Linked DNA regions of Homo sapiens: region 1 is linked to region 2. The links are contacts of gene promoters, found by promoter capture Hi-C in blood cells and fetal thymus (Javierre and others, 2016). All regions are on one chromosome and are shown on one strand. The core of a region is centred on a gene start or on the middle of the fragment in contact, and the rest is flanking DNA. Distances in the headings are between cores, read along the strand shown. Region 1 holds the start of OR6T1 (olfactory receptor family 6 subfamily T member 1). Region 2 holds the start of OR8B2 (olfactory receptor family 8 subfamily B member 2).

Region 1 (5,453 bases), core at 1,336-3,835, 440 kb after region 2:
TGGAGGAGGAGCTGAAAGACTTTTGGATGAAACTCAACCTAACACATATCCTGGGGGATGTTTTCATTTTTTCAGGATCAAATCTTTAAACTATAACAATTTATTTCTATATGTAGAATTCCTATCATTAGTTGACAGATGAAGTAAGATGACAAGTGGAAATTGATATCAAATCAAATTTATAATGACAAACTCTCATATATAAGATATTGTGGTTTAGCAGCTAATAATTCAGGCTCTGAATTCAGACTGCCAAAATTTTATTCACTAACTCTACTACTCACTAATGTGGGTCCTTAATCCCTCGAACCCTAAACCTTGCCTGTATGATGGAGAGAATAATAACGTATAGTTGCTGAGATATTTCACAATGAAATAAATACAAAGTCTCTGGCATATAGTAACTATTCAGTAAGTTCTAGCTGTTATCATTAGAAGCATCATTATATTATGGCATTCTAAATCCACATCCTTTTTTTCCCTTGATAGGTTCAAATTTCATGGTCTTATCCACTAGTGCCATAGACACACACCAGAGTCAGATAAGTTTAGATGTGTATCTTAGCTTTGTGTTTGAGGGTGGGTATTTTTTTCCCACACTGTTCTAGTTTGCTCAATTATAAAGTGGACAATAATAATAGTTATCTAATTGTGTAAATTAGATCATTATGTCAATGAAAAATGTGTGCATGTGAGTCCCTCAAAGTTCTAATTCCCTTCACTGATTCTCATCTTGTTAACCAGTATTTTTAGTGCAAAATACATAGGAACAAAAAAACATTTCCAACTATAGTACAAACAACTTCTAACTGTGTGACATTAAGCAAATGATTTAAAGCATTAAGATTATTTTGAGGTTGAAAATGACAAAATTGTAAACATGCGTATACAGGGATGATAGTGTTATGGTCTGGCATTTTGAGAGACAGCCAGCCAACTGATGAGGCTCTCCAGAACTGATAAGCAGTTATTCAGGTTGACAAAGAGAGGCTAGAGAACAGACTTTAGTGCATGTATTTTATCACAGTAGCCAGAAACTGATTTTGTGTGTTTGACGGACTTTATAAGTTACTTTTAATAATATTTAACCAAAGCTTTGGAAATAGCCACAGTAGCATGTTTTCCTTATCTGAAATGATTATGTTATCCTGAAACAGTGCTCTGGCCTCCTTTGCTGGGTTTTATTATGGTATTTCTTTGATTTTGGAGACACAAGCCCTAGACTAGCAGAATGAAGCATTATTATTACTTAGCTACTTAAATCCCAGACTTATTCTTTCCAAAATTGATGTAAACAGAACAGAAATATCCTTCAAACCTGGATTTCTTGCCTCAGTTCAATACTATCTGTTAAAGTAGCTTCAGACAGAATTGAGAAAATATCTGTGCTCCTCGTCTTTAACACTGTTGGTCTGAAGTAATAGATATTCCTCAGTTAAACTGTCTAAACTCTCAACACTTCATTCCTTGTCAATTAAACAATGTAACTTGATGCTCATTTTCATTCTTTTTGTCTTAGAACATTTTCCATTTTCCCTGATTAGGCCAAATCTATGTGATTCTGAGTATTTGGTGCTAGATGTTTAAAAAAAAAAAAAAGAACCCAAGATATCTAATTGTCTAATGAAATCCAGTCCTTCAAAACATGTGGATACATTTTACAGGATTCCAAAAGCTCCAAGGACAAGATGAACATATCTCCAAATTAAGGCAAAAGTTGAGAAGGCAAGTTGATATATACCATCTCCTTTGAGACCATTCTCCCTTATTCCTCATTTTATACTATTAGAATATTGAGCAAGCTGAAGGTAAGAGAAGCTAGTAAGCATTCCACAAGGAAGAAGGATTTCTAGCATTCTACAGGAGTCTGGATTGGGGGAAAAAAGAAAAATAACACTTTATGACAGGACTGGGCTTTGCACAATCCGGTCCTATTTGGCTTCATGGCTGACTAATGAAAATTAAATCTCTGAGTATACCGAGAGCCCAGATTTTTAAATTCTGTTATTTTATGTCAAGCCAGGACACAGAAGGACCATAAACACTAAAATGAGAGTTCTTAATACCAGTAAAATTTGTTCATGGTGCATTTGTTCTGTGAAGTCTTCTCTGACCCCTCTACTCCTCTGGACTCGTCTAAAGCCACACTACTCACACGGTTCTCTGCCTGAGCTCAACAGTATCAGCAGCATGTGCTGGAGTCACAGAAGCTCAGTATGAAATCCTGCCTCTACCACCTGTTTCCTACCTGATCATAGAAGAGTCACTTAAACTCCCTTCGTCATCCTTTTCTTATCTTTGAAAATAGTAAAACATAGTTTTAAGAGTAGCTAGGAGAAGAGATACTGTGCACCGTGTAAATTTTCAGATATATAATTGATGTTCAATATTGCCATGCTGCTTACTATTGTAATTTGTTTCTCTCTTTGTAAGTCACGTGCAGACCAAACTATAGATCAACATATTCTCAGAATGTAAGGAAGTGTTGGGTGTTCAATATTATTTTACCGATTGGTTAAATGATGATTGGTAGCTATAGACCAGTTACAGAGTTCTGTTTCATTTCCCCTGCAGGTGACTGAAGATGAACCCTGAAAACTGGACTCAGGTAACAAGCTTTGTCCTTCTGGGTTTCCCCAGTAGCCACCTCATACAGTTCCTGGTGTTCCTGGGGTTAATGGTGACCTACATTGTAACAGCCACAGGCAAGCTGCTAATTATTGTGCTCAGCTGGATAGACCAACGCCTGCACATACAGATGTACTTCTTCCTGCGGAATTTCTCCTTCCTGGAGCTGTTGCTGGTAACTGTTGTGGTTCCCAAGATGCTTGTCGTCATCCTCACGGGGGATCACACCATCTCATTTGTCAGCTGCATCATCCAGTCCTACCTCTACTTCTTTCTAGGCACCACTGACTTCTTCCTCTTGGCCGTCATGTCTCTGGATCGTTACCTGGCAATCTGCCGACCACTCCGCTATGAGACCCTGATGAATGGCCATGTCTGTTCCCAACTAGTGCTGGCCTCCTGGCTAGCTGGATTCCTCTGGGTCCTTTGCCCCACTGTCCTCATGGCCAGCCTGCCTTTCTGTGGCCCCAATGGTATTGACCACTTCTTTCGTGACAGTTGGCCCTTGCTCAGGCTTTCTTGTGGGGACACCCACCTGCTGAAACTGGTGGCTTTCATGCTCTCTACGTTGGTGTTACTGGGCTCACTGGCTCTGACCTCAGTTTCCTATGCCTGCATTCTTGCCACTGTTCTCAGGGCCCCTACAGCTGCTGAGCGAAGGAAAGCGTTTTCCACTTGCGCCTCGCATCTTACAGTGGTGGTCATCATCTATGGCAGTTCCATCTTTCTCTACATTCGTATGTCAGAGGCTCAGTCCAAACTGCTCAACAAAGGTGCCTCCGTCCTGAGCTGCATCATCACACCCCTCTTGAACCCATTCATCTTCACTCTCCGCAATGACAAGGTGCAGCAAGCACTGAGAGAAGCCTTGGGGTGGCCCAGGCTCACTGCTGTGATGAAACTGAGGGTCACAAGTCAAAGGAAATGATCTTATTAAATGGGAGATTAAATGTTTATTGAAAATTTTTTAAATGTGCAAGAAGTTTAAGGGATGTAGGCAACACTGTTCACTTTTCTCAGCTAATGAAAGAACAGTCTTCATAAATATACAACATGAAATACGGTGGTAAACCTTCATTTTCCCTCCCTACAACCTTCCTTGTGCCTCCTCCTCCCCACAGAGAAGGCTGATCCAATTGGTCAAATTTCTTTCAAGATGGAATCCTTGGATTGGAGAGCATGTGTGAGCACGTGACCCGCATACAGGGAGGCTCCTCCTTCTCTTCGTGTGTGCTTAAACACTTTTCTTACTGCCTCAGTCTCCTGTGTCATGTAGCCAATCAGAAGATGCTGAAATATGGAGATTCAGATTTGGAGCTCAGTGGGGAGTAAGAGGGTCTCTGAGGTCTTCCAACTAGACTGGGTACTGCAAATAAAATTAACCAGAACCTCTGTATTATTAGAAAATCAAATTCTGGCTGCAGTAATAAATGGTTCTCTGATTTGCATTTGTTATTGCTCCTTATGTAACTAGCAGCTCCTATAGGAATCTCATAAAGGAAGAATGTTAAGACCAGTGAAATATTTGGATAGCCCTAATTCCTAAGTCAAACTCTACTAACAAACTCAAATATGGCAACAAACTGAAATATGGCAACACTCATTTAATCATTCCTTTAAGAAATATTATTAAATCTCTAATATGGCAAGGCTCCAACTAGGGTGAGCCAAGGAAGATGTCTACAGAACAAATTTTAAAGAGACATGCACTTTTAGGGGAGTGTTAGCGCAGGGTCAGGCTGTGTACAAACTCGATAGTAAATGTCTGCTCATTGTTGACATGAGGCCCCTCTGTTGCTGCACCCTCATCTAGGCTGTGGTGCTAGGCTTGGAGAATACAGTATTAAGTAAGCTAAACACGGCCCTTTCTTTTATAGAATTTATAGTATAGTGGGCGATGGCTGACAAAAAATATTAATAAATAAATACATAAATCAGTGTGTAATTGAAATCTGTGATAAATACTTTTGAGTTTTGTTAGAGAAACTAATAAGGACAAATTAATTCGGATTAAAGATCAGTGAACACATCTTTGAGGAAGTGACCTTTAGACCGAGGATTGAGATTGAGCAACAGTTTGCCAGGCAAGGATGAAGAGAAGAGCATCCCAGAGATAGCAAAGAGTATTTGCAAACTCAAGAAGTAAAGAGAAACTGACAGAAGTAAATGCAAACAGAGGGTTAGAAAAGAGTGGAGTTAGAGAAGTGAGATTGGAGAGATGGGTGGAGGCCAGGTCAGACAACATCTTATCTATAATAGTCATGTGGATTTTTTTTTTAAAGGCAATGGAAAGCCTCTGAGTGATTGTAAGGGAGAGAATGATCAAGTCATATTTTAAAAGATGGATCAAATGCCAAGTCTATCTATGATGTCAGTATAACTCACGATGATATAAACTCTATCTGTGATGACATAAACCCACAGATCCTTAGAATCTATAAGACGTTTTAGGTACTGTTGAGCACTTGGGCTCTGATGTTGTATAGACTTGGGTTGAATTCCAGAAAACAAGCTCTGTAGCCTTAAGTAAGTTATTTAATGTCTCTAATTTGTAATGGACTCATGTTTAAAGTAAAGATGATACCTACCTCCTAAGAATTTTGAGAAAATTAAAATAATAAATGTAAATCACCTGGTACAGTGTCTGGAACATAGTAAGTTCTAACTAAATGTTATTAATATGATGATGATGATGACACTGATGGCAACAACAGTGACCCTAGGAAACTATGAGGAAGAAAGTGATTTGCCCAAGGTAATTTCCTTTTTCCTCATTGACGAACAGTCAATCAATCAATCAGTCTCCACTGGGACTCAGGGTCCAA
Region 2 (5,896 bases), core at 2,117-4,616:
GAAAATGGCCATACTGCCCAAGGTGATTTATAGATTCAATGCCATCCCCATCAAGCTACCAACGACTTTCTTCACAGAATTGGAAAAAACTACTTTAAAGTTCACATGGAACCAAAAAAGAGCCCGCATCACCAAGTCAACCCTAAGCCAAAAGAACAAAGCTGGAGGCATCACGCTACCTGACTTCAAACTATACTACAAGGCTACAGTCACCAAAACAGCATGGTACGGGTACCAAAACAGAGATATAGATCAATGGAACAGAACAGAGCCCTCAGAAATAACGCCACATATCTACAACTATCTGATCTTTGACAAACCTGAGAAAAACAAGCAATGGGGAAAGGATTCCCTATTTAATAAATGGTGCTGGGAAAACTGGCTAGCCATATGTAGAAAGCTGAAACTGGATCCCTTCCTTACACCTTATACAAAAATTAATTCAAGATGGATTAAAGACTTAAATGTGAGACCTAAAACCATAAAAACCCTAGAAGAAAACCTAGGCATTACCATTCAGGACATAGGCATGGGCAAGGACTTCATGTCTAAAACACCAAAAGCAATGGCAAGAAAAGCCAAAATTGACAAATGAGATCTAATTAAACTAAAGAGCTTCTGCACAAGAAAAGAAACTACCATCAGAGTGAACAGGCAACCTACAACATGGGAGAAAATTTTCGCAACCTACTCATGTGACAAAGGGCTAATATCCAGAATCTACAATGAACTCAAACAAATTTACAAGAAAAAAACAAACAACCCCATCAAAAAGTGGGCAAAGGATATGAACAGACACTTCTCAAAAGAAGACATTTATGCAGCCAAAAAACACATGAAAAAATACTCACCATCACTGGCCATCAGAGAAATGCAAATCAAAACCACAATGAGATACCATCTCACACCAGTTAAAACGGCAATCATTAAAAAGTCAGGAAACAACAGGTGCTGGAGAGGATGTGGAGAAATAGGAACACTTTCACACTGTTGGTGGGACTGTAAACTAGTTCAACCCTTGTGGAAGTCAGTGTGGCCATTCCTCAGGGATCTAGAACTAGAAATACCATCTGACCTAGCCATCCCATTACTGGGTATATACCCAAAGGACTATAAATCATGCTGCTATAAAGACACATGCACACGTATGTTTACTGCGGCACTATTCACAATAGCAAAGACTTGGAACCAACCCAAATGTCCAACAATGATAGACTGGATTAAGAAAATGTGGCACGTGTACACCATGGAATACTACGCAGCCATAAAAAATGATGAGTTCATGTCCTTTGTAGGGACATGGATGAAATTGGAAATCATCATTCTCAGTAAACTATCGCAAGAACAAAAAACCAAACACCACGTATTCTCACTCATAGGTGGGAATTGAACAATGAGAACACATGGACACAGGAAGGGGAACATCACGCTCTGGGGACTGTTGTGGGGTGGGGGGAGGGGGGAGGGATAGCTTTAGGAGATATACCTAATGCTAAATGAGGAGTTAATGGGTGCAGCACACCAACATGGCACATGTATACATATGTAACTAACCTGCACATTGTGCACACGTACCCTGAAACTTAAAGTATAATAATAATAAAATAAAAAAATGAAGCAAATCAGAAGGGAAAAAAATAAATAAATATATAAAAATAAAAATGGTGTTCGCTCCCAGGGACAAAAAAAAAAGGTAGAATTAGAACAACTCCCAGATTTTGGAAATTAGACAGTAGATAAACAAGCAGTATCTGCACTGGCATTCTTACAACATCTGACCCTATGATAGAACTGGGAAAACCAAGAACACACCTGATTTACACACAGTCTCCAACATTCTCACAATTTCACGACAGCAGATATTTCTGGAAGAAGTGAGGATGGGGCAGAACAAATGGAATGCTTAAAAGTCTGTTTAAGAATTAATTAGAGGCCAGGCATGGTGGTTCATGCCTGTAATCCCAACACTTTTGGGAGGCTGAGGCAGGAGGGTTTCTTGAGACCAGGAGTTCAAGACCAGCCTGGGTAACATAGTGAGACCCCCTATCCCTACAAAAAATTAAAAAATTAGCCAGGTGTGGTGGCATGTGCCTGTAGTGCCAGCTACTTGGGAGGCTGAGGTGGGACGATCTATTGAGTCCTGGAGGTTGAGGCTGCAGTGAGCTGTGATTGCACCACTGCACTCATGCCTGGGTGACAGAGTAGGACCCTGTCTTTAAAAAAAAAAAAAAGAGAGAGAGAGAAAAAGAAAAAAAAGAAAGAATTCTGTATCCTGACTTAGGTTTTTGTTACATAAATAGGTACATAGGATTCAACTGCATAGATCTACACACACACACAGACACACACACACACACACACACACACACACACGCATGTTAAATTGCTGAATAAGGTCTGTAGTTTCTTTAACATTATTGAACCTATGTCAGTTTCCTGATTTTGCTATTGTCCTACAGTTGTGGAAGATGTCTCTGTGTGAGGAAGCTGGGTGAAGTGTCCAAGGGAATCTACATATACTTTTGCCACTTCTTGTGATTCTAATAATTTTAAAATAAAAAGGTAAAAAATATAGATGCCTTCTCACAAGCACAAATTCCTACCTACCGGGAAATTCTGAAGTCATACTGTCTTAAAATGAGGGCACATGATTAGTGATTTTTCTTACAGATTTGATTTTAACCTGTTAAAGGCAAAGACATGTTGAGTTAGAGCAACCCAAGATAATTAAATTTTGATGAAATAAAGGATCATTCTATGTTACACAAAATTTTATTTAAAAAATCTGAAATCAATTAAAAGTATCCTTTTCTTTATTCTTTTTCTTTTCTTTTTGCCTATAAAGTATGCAAAACTAAAAATGGATTATTTAAAAGGACTCACAATATTAAAAATGAGCATAGCAATAAACTTTACTAAATTATACATACATACTTGTTAAAGCTAACACTGCCGATAATTATAATTAGCAAAAATTCTGACAATCTTTATGTTTACATCTTTATACATGACAGCAGAGGCTCTTTCTCCTATGCCCTGTGGATTGTATAATCCCTGATGAAAAGTTTACATCTACAACAACAAGTTAGGCTGTAAACACAGGCATATAATTTCTTCCCTGCAGAGTGTGTCATGGTAGGGGAGGTCCTGAGAGAGACTTACTGTTGGTATGTAATCAGGTCTAAGAATTATGAGCCTTGAGCAAATGCCATGTCTCTATGACGGTGGACATGGTGGGTCTGGTGTGAAGTCTGATTTTCTAACAAACCCTCTTGGCAAATTTATAAATAGTTTGATCTACACCTCAGAATGATTCCCAGAACATTCAGATTCTGAGATCTATGCTCAATGCTTTTGCCAGGTAAGGGAGAAGAAGATTCTTTGACTACATGTGGTCAACGTAGATACCTTCACCACCAGTTCTACCTCCAGGGCAGTGGAGGTGAAACACATATCAATGGTCAGCACTGAGTTCTCTGAGTGGAAGGAAGGTGAGTTAATCAAGTTTCTATTTCTCTCTCCTGGATGTTGCTGAAAAATGGGGAAAAGTATTTATTCAATAGCAAGAAACTTAGTGGTATGGAGCTCTGACTCTCGGGCTTGCATTTTTCTCACACTGTTCTCTCTGTTGGCTTCATTCTCAGCCTGGTATCAGGATAGCAATAGCAGTTCCAAGTGACACATCCAGAACAGAGGAATGCCAGGAAAGGAGATTTGTCTCTTTATTAAAAATATATTGACATGTGCTATACATATAGAAGAGTTTAAGGGTCATAAAAATACCAGTTTGGTAAAATTTTACAAACTTAACAACTAATATAACTGTACCCAAATTAATTATGTTTCCCTTATGCCTTCCTACAAAGACCTGTGAAAGCACATTCAGCTTCCTTTCTTCATCCTCTGTCTAGCTAGGATGGAATAGAGGAGAATGTGTAGAAACACTTATGTGATTTGTATGTGGTGAATCATAAGGCCTCGACTACTAAGGGTCTTCTTTTATCACCCGGTGACTTCATGGATTCTTATAGTAAGGTATCTAGAAACCCTATAGGAGACCCCTGTCTAGGAAACAGAATATCAGTATGGTCTCCGCCCTAAAGGAATCCTCCCTTACCTGGTGGTCATCACAGGGAAATTGAAGTGTCTAGTAGAATAATGGAAACATAAGTAGAAACTAGGAAGTGAAGGGACAGATGGAAGTGAGGGAGATGAGACACATCCATATAACCCAAGCTCAACAGCAGGTAGGCCTGTGCCTCAGCTACTCCACCTCTGTGTCTTCTAGTAAGGACAGGAGCAATTGTTTGTCACATTCAGTCTGTACAGACAAAAGACACTGACTGAAATGTTGAGGAGTGGGAGTGGCAGTACATTCAGTACATTCAGATCCCATGAAACAAAGAACTCACCCAAATTCCTACAGCCTGAGTCCCCTCCTCATTAATGAGATTTTGTAAAAAGAAATCTGTGTTCCTAATAGAATTTTCTTTTGTCTTCCCAGATTTTTGAAGACAAAAAATGCTGGCTAGAAACAACTCCTTAGTGACTGAATTTATTCTTGCTGGATTAACAGATCATCCAGAGTTCCGGCAACCCCTCTTTTTCCTGTTTCTAGTGATCTACATTGTCACCATGGTAGGCAACCTTGGCTTGATCACTCTTTTCGGTCTAAATTCTCACCTCCACACACCAATGTACTATTTCCTCTTCAATCTCTCCTTCATTGATCTCTGTTACTCCTCTGTTTTCACTCCCAAAATGCTAATGAACTTTGTGTCAAAAAAGAATATTATCTCCAATGTTGGGTGCATGACTCGGCTGTTTTTCTTTCTCTTTTTCGTCATCTCTGAATGTTACATGTTGACTTCAATGGCATATGATCGCTATGTGGCCATCTGTAATCCATTGCTGTATAAGGTCACCATGTCCCATCAGGTCTGTTCTATGCTCACTTTTGCTGCTTACATAATGGGATTGGCTGGAGCCACGGCCCACACCGGGTGCATGCTTAGACTCACCTTCTGCAGTGCTAATATCATCAACCATTACTTGTGTGACATACTCCCCCTCCTCCAGCTTTCCTGCACCAGCACCTATGTCAACGAGGTGGTTGTTCTCATTGTTGTGGGTACTAATATCACGGTACCCAGTTGTACCATCCTCATTTCTTATGTTTTCATTGTCACTAGCATTCTTCATATCAAATCCACTCAAGGAAGATCAAAAGCCTTCAGTACTTGTAGCTCTCATGTCATTGCTCTGTCTCTGTTTTTTGGGTCAGCGGCATTCATGTATATTAAATATTCTTCTGGATCTATGGAGCAGGGAAAAGTTTCTTCTGTTTTCTACACTAATGTGGTGCCCATGCTCAATCCCCTCATCTACAGTTTGAGGAACAAGGATGTCAAAGTTGCACTGAGGAAAGCTCTGATTAAAATTCAGAGGAGAAATATATTCTAATTAGAAGCAGTAATGATGTAAAACAATTGAAGGACTTCAAATTTTTATTAGTGTTTTTCATGAAGAGATTTTGTTGTTTCTACAGATGGTGTTATGTGTGATTTAATAAACTTGTCTTATCATTTCTCTTATGAGATCATCTTGTGTCTTCTTTTTTGTTTTTGCATCTCTGGCACTTCTCGCAATATTACTAAAGAGGTCATGGCATATTTGTAAAGGGAACATATGCACTGATATTTTTCTTCATCATTTTCTACCTTTCCTCTCTCCTGGGCTATTCTTAATTGGAAAAATGTGGTAAATTTCATGAATTATAAAAATGTCAAAGTCACAGCTTTCTCACCTAAACACAGAAGTGCCAAATATGATAGAAGCATTCTTATTTTTATCAACATTGTTACAGATATAGGCAGCTGGATTTGATGAAATATAT

What was found. The method cuts DNA at HindIII sites, captures the fragments that hold promoters and counts their contacts. A CHiCAGO score of 5 or more calls a contact.
Region 1: the fragment with the promoter of OR6T1 here is called in contact with the fragment with the promoter of OR8B2 in region 2 in 1 of 17 cell types (erythroblasts); the score reaches 6.4 in erythroblasts.

What each region holds. Positions count from the first base shown.
Region 1 is chr11:123,940,970-123,946,422 of GRCh38, reverse strand. OR6T1 (olfactory receptor family 6 subfamily T member 1) reads left to right here and starts at 2,585. Exons shown (of 1, transcript NM_001005187.1): 1 at 2,585-3,556. The coding sequence starts at 2,585. The coding sequence ends at 3,556. The HindIII fragment of the contact is 1,522 bases long and covers 1,097-2,618 here.
Region 2 is chr11:124,381,969-124,387,864 of GRCh38, reverse strand. OR8B2 (olfactory receptor family 8 subfamily B member 2) reads left to right here and starts at 3,366. Exons shown (of 2, transcript NM_001005468.2): 1 at 3,366-3,491; 2 at 4,505-5,471. The coding sequence starts at 4,522. The coding sequence ends at 5,463. The HindIII fragment of the contact is 13,920 bases long and covers 1-5,896 here.